Regions from separate parts of the Homo sapiens genome. Here all the other regions are linked to region 2. Evidence: promoter capture Hi-C in human tissues and cell types (Jung and others, 2019). All regions are on one chromosome and are shown on one strand. The core of a region is centred on a gene start or on the middle of the fragment in contact, and the rest is flanking DNA. Distances in the headings are between cores, read along the strand shown.

Region 1 (4,213 bases), core at 425-2,924, 670 kb after region 2:
ATAATGAAGATTACAAAAAGTACAAATGACATTCCTTTGTCCTGTTTTCTTGGTTTCCCAGTGCAATTTTGGATAAAATATTAAAGAGACAATTAATCAGGAGTGCTGAGCACTGTATGAAAATAGAGAGAGATGCCAGGTCAGGCAATACATATGGGTAATTTAGAAAGATCTATATTTTTAAAAGTAGTTAGATGCTTGGGAGTATTTTGTATGTACTGTTTTCTTAGTAGAAATATAGTGCATTAAATCAACAGGATTAGACAAATATGACAGATGGAAAAACACATCTTGGTGAGCAAAGTATGGAGGGATGAAGACATGATAAAGAAGAAAAGACTGCAGAGTGTTGATGTTCTTGTGACAAGAAGAAGGGGGTATGGCCTGGACTGGAGTCGTGGTAGGAATGGTTATGGAAGACAGTAACAACAATAACTAGTGTCATATGAAAAGGGATTGAGTTATGGATATAAGTGGATGCATTAAATCTGCAAGATCTAGAATTTCTTCAGCACTGCACTCCTTTTGTTGTTTTTCATACTGTCACAACTGCATTAATCAACTATTAGTGAATTTTTGACGACTCATTCATGTACCTACGAAGGAACAGGGGTAAGCAGAGCTCATTCTTCGGGTAGTCTTAAGTAGGCAGCCTGCGAGCTCAAATGTTCTAAATTTCCTTCTTTTCACCAAGTAGGTAGGGAGGTCTGAGCTTCCCGGAGATAGGTGGGGTGTGGAGGAGTTCATGGAACATCAAAAATATTGAGATGTTCAAATCAGAATGGATTCAACATCAAAGAGAGATCTTGCACATATTTCAGAAAAGGTGAACAAAGCAATTCCACATAAAATTGCTTGTTTTGTGGCTGTTAATGAGAAAATTCCCAGAAACATACCTTTTACTGTTTATGTCTCAGACCTTGTAAATCATGAAATGCAATTTCAGATTGTAGTGTAAGACCTATAGAGAAACGTGGGTATTGCTGTTAGCTGTAAATACAGTTCTTTATTATGATTGCAGCTTGTTCTCCCTAAAATAAAATTCAGCATGTGCTGAATTTAAGTTTAGCTTGGCTAACTTTTCTGCCAGATAGAATATAAGTACACTGCATATAATACTGTGTTAGCTTTTTTTTTTTCAACATGAACTCAAATTTTGAATGTTCTTATCAGTTTATTATTAAACCTTCATGCAAAAACAAAATGGGAAAATGTAAGGGCATAATCTGTGGCATCAGATAGAACTGTTTAGATCTTGATTATGCCACTTACTTGATTGCTAATCCTTACTTTCCTTATCTATAAAAATTGGATGATAGATATGCTTACCTCATATGGTAGCTCTGAGGTATAAAGGAGACAATGAATGTAGACTTTGTTGGGATACTTACGTATCCTCAGTAAATAATACCCATTTTCCCCACCCAAGTTCTGAACCAATTTAGAAACAGACAAGAGTAACGCAGGCAGGAGACCATTATCATTGATAAAGCTGACACTGGAGAACTTAGGCTTCCTGACGCTGAATACCAGAAATAGACAGGCTCACCAACTGGTATCAGGTAGTCCTGGACAATGGGTCGTTCCACCGGGAAAAGGTCTTTGCCACTATGCTTACAGCTTGCCTAAAATCATGCTCCCTGTGAGAGTTGCTACCAAAAGAGAAAGAGGCTGGAATACAAATACCCAGATTCTCTCAACTTATCCTTGCCAGGGGAGGATAAATGAGGAGGTGGAAGTATCCAGGAATGTTACAGCTCATGCAGCTCTCTCTCATGGGAGGAAACAGCAGGAGTGGAGAATGAGTATTCCCTCCCACAGAATGATTAGCACAGTGCCTGGCACATGCTAATTTATTATTTGTCATCTATGCCTATTATATTTACTGGTTCTTAAGGAAAAGTGAAAATAAATACAAATTATACTTTGAACATATGTGAGAGTGGTAGGTGGCAAGTTTTAGAGAGATTGATAAAACCTGAATAGTTAAGGTCCTTATATGTCATAATGTGCATTTTCATTTTGTTTCGTAGATAATGGATAACCAAAAATAATCTTAAATCAGGGAGAAACCCTCTATTAAGTCTGTTCTTACACTGTTATAAAGAACTACCTGAGACTGGCTAATTTATGAAGAAAAGAGATTTAATATACTCATAGTTCTGCAGGCTGTATAGGCAGCATGGCTGCGGGGCCTCAGGAAACTTAAAATTATGGCGGAAGATGAAGCAGAACCAAGCATATATTCATCATGGCGGAGCAGGAGATGGAGAGAGAGCAAAGGGGGAAGTGCTACACACTTTCAAACAACCAGATCTTTTGAGAACTCTATCATGAGACAGTACTAGGGGGATGGTGCCAAACCATCAGAAACCACCCCTATGATCCAATCACCTCCCACCAGGCCCTACCTCCAACACATAGGGTCACAATTCAACATGAGATTTGGATGGGGACACAGAGCCAAACCATATCAAACTTTCAAGTTTGCACTTTAGAATATGAACTCTTTCTTAGACTGTTTCATGTTGCTATAAAAGAATACCTGAGTCTGGGTAATTTGTAAAAGTAAGAGGTTTATCTGGCTCATGGCTCTGCAGGCTGTATGACCATGACACCAGCGTCTGCTTCTGGTGAGGGCTTCATGGAGCTTCCACTCATGGTGGAAGGCAGAGGAGAGCAGGCATCACATGGTAAAGGGAAAGAACAGAGAGAGAGAATGAGAGAGAGAGGAAGAGGGGTGGGGAGGGAGGTGTCAGACTCTTTAACAGATCTAACAGGAACTAAGAGTGAGAACTCACTCAATCCCGCAAGAATGGCACCAAGCCATTTGTGAGGGATTCATCCTCATGACCCCAACACCTCTCTCTAGGCCCCACCTCCAACATTGGGGATCAAATTTCAGTATGAGATTTGGAGGGGACAAATATTCAAACTATATCAAACTCTAACTGCAGTATACAACATAGAGAAGATGAACAGTCTCCCTGAGCCAGGCACTATGGTATGCACCTAATAGAATGCTCTCTCTTTTAATCCTCACAGCAATCTTGAGAATAATGCCACACTCACATCACTCCCATTTTAAGATTGCATAACTGAAACTTTGAAAGTTTAAATAATTTAGCCAAGATACTCAGCTTATAAATGAAAAAATCGAGAATTTGATCCCATATCTACCTGACTCTAAAACTCAGGACTGGCTTCATGGGCCCGTGACCAGTACAGTCACACAGAGACCTGAATTTAGAAGGGCTCTGAGCTTGGTTTCATGCTCTGCTGTCTCAGTATTAAAATTCTTAATCATTTTAGAACAAGGAGCCTGCATTTTCATTTTGCATTGGGTCCCTTAAATGATGTAGCCAGTCCTGCCAAGATATCTTTTCTTACTATTATTCCAGTCACCACTATCACCAAATCGGAAAGATTCTACACAAATAAAACTCCCCTTTTCATCAGAGTTATGGAAAAGTAATGAGTCTAGGTGGAAAATTAATATGTGGATGATCGTATATGGGTGTTTCTGCATTTACACGTGTAAATGTTCACAATTCAGAGCCCAGTCATTGTCACCACTCTTTTCTCAAACATTTTTTTTATTCCTAGGGACTTCACCAGTGCTGCCATGCTGGCCCCAGGCTGTGAGTTGGACCCAGACCAAGAAGTGGTGAGGACAAGGCCTGAAGGTTAGTGAGGGAAGAGGAGAAATACATTCATGTCTAAGCACATGTGTCTGGTCATATTCCAAGTCTCAGTACAAATTAATTTTGAATTATGTGGTTGATGTTTTCCACATTTCAGCTTCCATCAACTGGCACAAATAATTAAGGGATGATGCAACACATATTGGTACAATTTCTCAACTTTTTTAGAGCTAGGCCCACTGAAATTCAGGTAGCTACTACAGACGATGGAAGAGGTTATTTTAGAAAAACATGCTATGTGAACAGCCCTACACTGGTGCCTTATTTTCAATCACCTTTTTAAACCATGAATTCATAATACTCTTTAAGGTAGTTGACCACTCTAACGATCCCTTTAATACATAATTTTTAAAAAAAAATAGAAAAAAATTGAAAATACAAAAAGAAAGACCCCAGAAAAATTATTCTAAGTCTTTCTGCATTTTTTTCACAGGCACATACACACACATACACAGACTTACAAAATAGAAAATGGTGGGCATAATTTTTTGTAATCTGGATTTTTTCCT
Region 2 (3,867 bases), core at 1,065-3,564:
ATCACATTCCTGTCCTCCTTGACATCTACTATTTTATGTGATGTTCTAATATTTCAACCAATAGTCTCTTCAATATTTTGCCTGTTAAAGTCCTAACAAAGCTAAATTGGTTAGGTTTAGCAAGCTGACTTCAATTTGACATAAGATGTGTATGGCTGCAAGAGAGGAAAGAAATGATTAATTAATAGATTTTATCCTACACTTTATTTGGGAACTGTTTAAATGTAGGTGTCTTAGAAAAATCTAAAGGATTTTGTGTCTCTTAGTCTATTAAGTTTATTTAAAATTTAACATAATCACTTCAATGTTCTTTTTATTCTTCCATTTTCTTAAAGAACACAATTAAAATTAACTTTATCACCCTGTCTTTCTTTGACATGAAATAGTTAACAATTTTGTATTTACATTAGAGGCCTATAAAGTAAATCATTTCGTGAGATTACTTTAAACTGTATGTTGGCCGGGCACAGTGGCTCACGCCTGTAACCCCAGCACTTTGGGAGGCCAAGGCAGGTGGATCAACTGAGGTCAGGAGTTCAAGACCAGCCTGGCCAACATGGTGAAACTCCGTCTCTACTAAAAATACACACACACACACACACACACACACAAAATAGCTGGGCGTGGTGTCAGGTGCCTGTAATCCCAGTTACTCAGGAAGCTGAGGCAGGAGAATCGCTTGAACCCTGGAGACAGAGGTTGCAGTCTGCCGAGATTGCACCATTGCACTCCAGCCTGGGCAACAAGAGTGACACTCCGTCTCAAAAAAAAAAAAAAAAGCTGTATGTTAATTGTAGACTTTTAGGAAAGACCCGTTTTTGAAACATTTACCTTTCACAAGGTGCACACACAGATTTGGACACACCAAATCAAAAAGTAGGGTTGACTCAGTGGACTAACTTAAGAGATAGACATCACGTTGGTATGCCAATCAGCTATGCCATTCCATGCAGCCTCAGCCTTGAACAGTCTGGAATGCTTTATAAGGTGGAACCCACAGATAAGTTAAGACTCTCTTATCTGCCTACAGCAGCTTTGAAAATTTGAAGTCATTGCCTGGATTGCTTTGTCAACCCCACGCTCATGCAACATTTCATGGAAAGACTGTCATCCATACTCAGTCAAACAATTTCTGTGTACAAAACTGTAGTTCTTGTTACCTTCTCTGAATGTCATTTCATCAGCACTAGTTTCTTGGAGAGAAAGATCTGTGATAGCCTTATGAACAATAAAGAGTTTCTCTTCTGGGTTTTCTAGGAAAAAAATATAAAATCAGTATTTTAACATTTAAAATATTTATTGTTCAACAGTTAATAAGTTATCAATTTAAACTCTAGGTAGAAGTCTTTAATTTTAAATCTGATCATTAAAATTTACTATTTCACTCTTTGGATTCATTCTTTATCAATTCAATTTATTTACTTAATGATCACTTTATTGATTGTAATCTCTCCTTTAATATTTATATAAGATATATATATAAGATATAGAACCATAAATTCAGAGAACTTCAGTTATATTTAGAAGGAAATTTTAACATTTTGAATTCTCTTTGTTCAAATAATATGGGGCTGTCCATAATCATAATAAATACAGTAGTTAACATTTAGCCAATACTTACCCTAGACTTGTAGTTATTATTATTATTCCGCCTTCTTCTAGTGAAAAAAACTCAGGCTTCGGGAGACAGAAAGTTGTCTGGGGTCACAGCTGTCAAATAGACCAGCCTGGATTTCACCAGAGGCAGAGGTTTAGTCCTTATACTATGCGTAGTAGAATAAAGGGCTACATTTTTGGGGTGTCCAGCTCATTTCGATAATAGTTTATCAAAAAAATCCAGGGTAAATTTATAAGTCAAAACAAGAAAATTAAGGAGAAGGGAAACACTTTACCTTTTAGCATTTTGTCCTCCATGGATGAGTTGAGCAGCATGTTCCCTTGTAATTTTCTTCTTTCCTCCTGACTTCCTTTGGTGAGTGCACCTTCCAGACTGGGTTCTACCCTGTAGTGTGGCAGGGGGCTGTCCACATCAGTCAATTCCTCACTGATTTTAGTGATTGTTTGTTGACCGTTTTCAGGTGGTTTATCCCCATTACACTCAGCCTGGGTAAATGTAGCCGGAACATCTGTCATGATGTGCGGTTGAATCCGATCTGGAGAGAGAGCTTTAGGGAAACTGAGTGAGTAGATCCTTGATAAGATACCTGCTCTTGCCTTCAAGTCCTATAGTTCCAACTCCTACTCTAAGAGCACAAATTATTCACTTTAGTACATAATAACAAGGTTCTTTTCCTAAAAGTATCCAGACAGAGATTAGAGCAAAAGCAAGAGGATTTGTCAGATCTGCCAGGAGCCATGAGCAAGAATCCAGCCAATCACCACCTTCTTTGTTGCTTGCCAGTTCCCTGGCAGAGTTAAAGGCATCCTTTTGATTTACATAAACAAACAATCTGAAGCAATCAGGCTTTTGTGTTGGCATGTAGAGAGGGACTTTCAGCTTGTCAGTCCCCCTCTGGGAACAGAGATTTTTGTCCCTTTTCATAATGGCCCATTGTAATTTTCCCTGTAACAGGAGCCACAATTGTCCCACAGCTTTAATCCAGAGAGAATGACCACCTTGAGGCATATTAGTTCTGTGTAACCAGCTTAACATTTCCAAACAGATTTTGTTCAAGTAAAACCTCAGCTATTTTGTAAAGGACAATGGCATTGTTTCTTATTTATTAAAAAATAAAACAGCTTATGGAAAAAACCTATAAACAGGACAACTTTACTGTAAATGGTTCTGGCTGCAGATTTGATGGTGTGCTTCCAGCAGGCTGGAGAAGGGACCTATGAAATAAACAAATTCTACCAACTTGCTAATACCAAAAGTTTTATAATTTCAGAGTAATTTACTTAGTCTATAGCTTCTTATCCTCTAGTTTATGTCTGCTGAAGCCCAGCCGATCCTTTAAAACCCTAATAAAATTATCGCCATGAAGGTTTCTCCTCCCCCAATCAGAATTACAATCCTTTCTATTCCATACTGATATTACACAATGCTGGTAAAATGTAGAGGACCAATGCAATCTGCCCTTGGGAGAAACAGGTGATTATGTTAAATGACTGCTACTGACCACCCCTTCCTTTTTAAATCTTTTTCTTTTTTGGATTTCTCATAGTACAAAATGGTTCCAGAGCCTTTGCCCACACAGCTCCTTCTATGTGAAATGCCCTTCTCTTCCTCAAGCCCAAGCCCTGGGCTGACCAGCTTCCCTAAGTTCTGTTTTTAAGCTTAAATATCATCTCCTTAACTACACTATCTCTAACCGCCAGGATTAGGACAGGACTCTGTTACACATTGTCTTTGCCCTTCAGAGTATTCTTCATGGTTGTAACTAAATAAGCAACTGCACAATTATCTCTGTAATGTCTGTTTCACCAACTGCAAACTAAGTTTCATCTGGCGAGGGGCCAGTTTAACTTGCTTACATGTGTCCCCAGCACTTAGCATCTGGCTTGGAATAGTAGCACGCAATAAAAATAATTATATATATACACATATATACACAAATAATTATATATATACACATACATAACAAGAATTATATTATATATATAATATATACAATAAATTTTATCCCCAAGAGAATAAATTTCAGATCATTTTTAAAGAGAAGAAGAATAGGTGTTGAAGAGTTGTAGTAAGCATATCACCTTTAAAAGTGTGTCTAGGGCTGAGCCCATTCAGGTCTATATCAGGGACAACACCTCACTCTTGTATAATCCCCTCTCCCTTGTCCTTGGAAGACATCTCTAATAGATCCTAGATCTCCCTCCCGCGTCATCACCAGCTGTTCTCTAGTCAGCACTCTAATTCTATGT
Region 3 (4,128 bases), core at 689-3,188, 620 kb after region 2:
CTAAGTCACAAAAATGTTCTATATTTTATTTTATAAATTTATAGTTATAACATTCATATTTATTCTTTTATTTATTTATTCATTCATTTATTTATTTATTTGAGACGGAGTTTCGCTCTGTCACCCAGGCTGGAGTGCAGTGGTGCGATCTTGGCTCACTGCAACCTCCGCTTCCCGGATTCAAGCAATTCTCTCCCTCAGCCTCCCGAGTAGCTGGGACTACAGGCGCCCGCCACCATGCCCAGCTAATTTTTTGTATTTTTAGTAGAGATGGGGTCTCACCATCTTGGCCAGGCTGATCTTGAACTCCTGACCTTGTGATCTACCCACCTCGGCCTCCCAAAGTGCTGGGATTACAGCATATTTATTCTTAAATCTATCTGGAGTCCATTTTTTATTATGTTGTATAAAGATCCAGTCTTTGTGTGCATATAGCTAGTTTTCCTTTAGTGTCTATTAAGTTTCTGTATAAACATGTCCCTGGCACTCACTTCTGTTTTTTGTCTGTTTGTTCTTGAACCAAACCAACAATACAATATTGTGATAGCTTTGAACTGTGTCAGATTAGTTTTACTGGAATTACATTTCCTGTAATTATTTTTTCCTTATGGTCCTCAGTTTGTTTTGGCCACAGGAGGCATTTTGTGTGATACTTGAAAAGTGGTAAGTGAAGGGGCAGCTATCTGTCTATCTATCTGTCTATCTGTCTATCTATCTATCTATCTATCTATCTATCTATCTATCTATCTATCTATCTATCATCTATCTGCTCTGAAGGTCCTCAGAAAGTGCCATGTATAGCAACATCTTGCATGCATTGTTACTGATCTGCTGGCTTATCTTATTGAATCAACTGAGACATCCAGCTCCTCCAGCTCCTGTCAAATCTCCACCAGATTCTCCAATTTCTGCCCCAAGTATGTGGACAGTTCCATGGTGAAAGGTCCCACCTTCTACTGATCACTCATAGCACTGATGTTGGAAATGGCAAGAGACACACACTGGTTCTGCTCTGTCTTGTGGGTTCCAGTTCCAGCTCCAGTTTGTCTTCACTGGTTCCAGTTTGCCCATCTTCTCAGCCACAGCTAGCTTTCCTTTCCATCTGCTAGTCTGTCTGACCTATAAACGCTTGAGGTCAACACTAGATGCAGATGCAAAAGCTTATATAGACTCTTCTGCCAGCTCCCATAATTGCCTAAAGCTTAACACTATAGTAAATCCATTATTCTATGAATAGAAATTCTGCTTCCCTTTTCAATTCCTTATTCAAATAAACACCATCCTGCTCCTTATTACTACTGTTTATGTTTTAATATTACAAAGTAGGAGTCTACATTTAAAATGGCAACTTAGTCTAGGAAATTAGTTGGCATATAAATTCTAGAGTATAAATTTCCTCACGAAATCTAACTGGAATTTTAATCAACTGCTTTACATATATTAATTGATTTTTACGTTAGTGTAATTAGATATTTAAAATATTATGTTTGAGACTATAAAGTCTTTTCATGTACTAAATTCATATCTGTGCCCTTTATAAAAGTCTTAAAATTTCCTCCATAGATGTCTTGTGTATTCTTGGTCAATTGGCTAATGTTAACAAAATATCTGGGTTAATTTAAGATACTTTATTTTTGTTGCAAAAATGAATGGCATAATTTACAAAATACTCTTATTTTGTTATTGAGGCTAAAGGCAATCCGTTTTTTAGTATAGTCTTGCGTCTGTCAACCTCGCCCAAATCCCTTATTAATTCTGATAGTTGATTGATTCTGTGTTTGTGTGTGTGTGTGTATTTGTGTGACTGATTCTGATGCTTGCCTACCCATTGGCCAGTCTACCTTCTCTCTTATAGTAGTATGTCTAATCCTAAGACATGAATTAGGATTGGTTTACAACACTGCCATCCCATTTCTCTTTGTGTTGGTCTAGGGGCATGCTACTAAGTTCTGTTGAGTAGTTTAGAAAAAGACTGTCCTCTCAGTTAAGAGAAAGGCATAGAAAAAGAAAAGTCTCTCTTTACCCATATCCACTTCCTTCCTGCTTAGGTATTGATAGGAGCTGATGTGTGAGAATTTTGTGCTGGGAGCTCCAGCAGCCACCTTATGATCAAAATGGGAAACTTGGTCGACATGCAGAGGATGGTCCTCTAAGCAGGTGGGAAAAGTGTGGGCCCTTGCTATGTCATGAGCTCCCCACCCAACTGGGGATCACCTACCTCCAGATTGCTGTCTGTTGAGGAAGAACTTTCCTAATGGTTAAGTCACCATTTTTTAAGGTCTCTGTCATTTACAGCTAAAATTGATCTGTTTGATATAGTGACAGTGTAGTTCATAGCAATACCACCTGAGCATTCCCCTTCACATTCTTTCTTTTTCTTTTATGTAGAGATGGGGTCTCACTATGTTGTCCAGGCTGACCTCAAACTGCTGGTCTCAAGTAATCCTCCCACCTCAGCCTCCCAAGTAGTTGAGATTACAGATGTGTGTTACTGTGCCTGGCTCCCCTTTACATTCTTTAATTTAATTTAGAGACAAGGTCCTACTCTGCTGCCCAGGCTAAAGTGCAGTGGCATAATCACAGCTCACTGCAGTCTCCATCTCTTGGGCTTATAAATCATTCTCCCACCTCAGCCTGCCAAGTAGCTGAGGCTACCGGCCCACACCACTACCTCCAGCTAATCCTTTACACTCTTAATTATAAAATGTATAATACATATATTATTTTCCTTTTGTCCATTTTCTACCTTTTGTCTCATATTTTATCTCCATATTCTCCACATGTTTTCTTACTTTAGCTCTGGACAATCTTCACAGGCAAAACAGGAAACAGTCCATATCATCAAAGCTCTGTTGGATCCCCGGTAGAATCAGCTCTGTCTCTTTCCCTTTATCCTCCACCTAAAATCACAGGCAGTTTTACAGGCTCAGTTAATACCTGGGATATTATAACCCTGTTGTGAGTATTTATAAAGAGCAAACAATCACAGATATGAAGCTAAAATGAACTGGAGTATAGAGAGTTTCAGACATTTGCCCAAGTCTTAGGCAAAACGTGTCACATTGCCTTTAAAATTTCTCGTCTGATTCTAATAATTTGCTTAAATGAAATTTGTCTGGTAGAGCCAAATGGAAAGATCCCAGTATAAAAGGGAAGAAACCATCAGGTATCCAGTAAGAGAGCATGACGTTGCATGAGTGGGGAGTGGTAACAAAATCAGAGGAGACCAAGTATAATTAGATAATGAAAACATTTTAAACCCATAATATTAATAAGAGTTGAACATTGACTCCTTTGTAAATACTTTACTATATCAAAGAAGCTTGGCTAGAACTTAAGGAAGCTGAGCTTCTACCTTGTCAATTAATAATTCTGTGACCTTTGAAATTTTCTTTCCTTTACTCTCCTCACATATAAGGAACTTATACAAGTGAAATTATAGTTGGTCCTTTGTTGTGTCTGTGGTTCCCCATCCATGGATTTAACCAGTCTCAGTTAGAAAATATTTGGAAAAAAATAATTAAACATAACAAGACAATGATAAAAAAGAATGCCAATTCAAAAGAATGCAATACAACAATGCTTCACATAGCATTCACATTGTGTTGGCATTATAAGTAATCTAGAGATGATTTAAAGTGTATAGGAGGATGTGCTCAGATAATAAGCAAATACTACACCACTTTATATCAGGGACTTGAGCTTCCATGGATTTTGGTATCCTCGGGGGTCCTGGAACAAATCCCCTGAGGATACGAAGGGATGACTGCACTTAGAAAAAAAGAAGATTCAATGGGAGAAATGTGAGCCACCTTTTCTTTCCCTTTTTTAACTGATGACTAAAAATTGTATATATGTATGGTGTACAACATGATGTTTTGATATATGCATACATTGTGGAATGGCTAAATCAAGCTAATTAGCATATGCATTACTTCACTTATTTTTTTGTGCTGAGAACACTTAAAACCAACTCTCTTAGCTACTTTCAAATATTCAATATGTTATTAACAATAGTCACCGCAACATACATCTCCTGAAGGTATTTCTGATAGTTAACTCAAAATTTATATTTCTTGACTTTTCTTGACTAGCATCTATATCTCCAATCCTGCTATTTTATGTCAT

The links. The method cuts DNA at HindIII sites, captures the fragments that hold promoters and counts their contacts. A contact is called where the count stands out against the background at its distance.
Region 1: a contact is called between a fragment that was not itself captured here and the fragment with the promoter of ERMN in region 2, in 1 of the 25 tissues and cell types used here (thymus).
Region 3: a contact is called between a fragment that was not itself captured here and the fragment with the promoter of ERMN in region 2, in 2 of the 25 tissues and cell types used here (mesenchymal stem cells and spleen).

The regions. Positions count from the first base shown.
Region 1 is chr2:157,991,574-157,995,786 of GRCh38, forward strand. It overlaps a transcript of UPP2 not described here. Among named protein-coding and RNA genes, the nearest start is that of UPP2, 110 kb to the right of the region's middle. The HindIII fragment of the contact is 8,976 bases long and covers 1-4,213 here.
Region 2 is chr2:157,323,510-157,327,376 of GRCh38, forward strand. It overlaps ERMN (ermin), which reads right to left and starts at 2,315. Exons shown (of 3, transcript NM_020711.3): 1 at 1,893-2,315; 2 at 1,161-1,253. The coding sequence starts at 2,133. RefSeq lists an enhancer at 2,199-2,748. The HindIII fragment of the contact is 5,881 bases long and covers 424-3,867 here.
Region 3 is chr2:157,946,630-157,950,757 of GRCh38, forward strand. No RefSeq gene overlaps it. Among named protein-coding and RNA genes, the nearest start is that of ACVR1, 72 kb to the left of the region's middle. The HindIII fragment of the contact is 4,456 bases long and covers 1-4,128 here.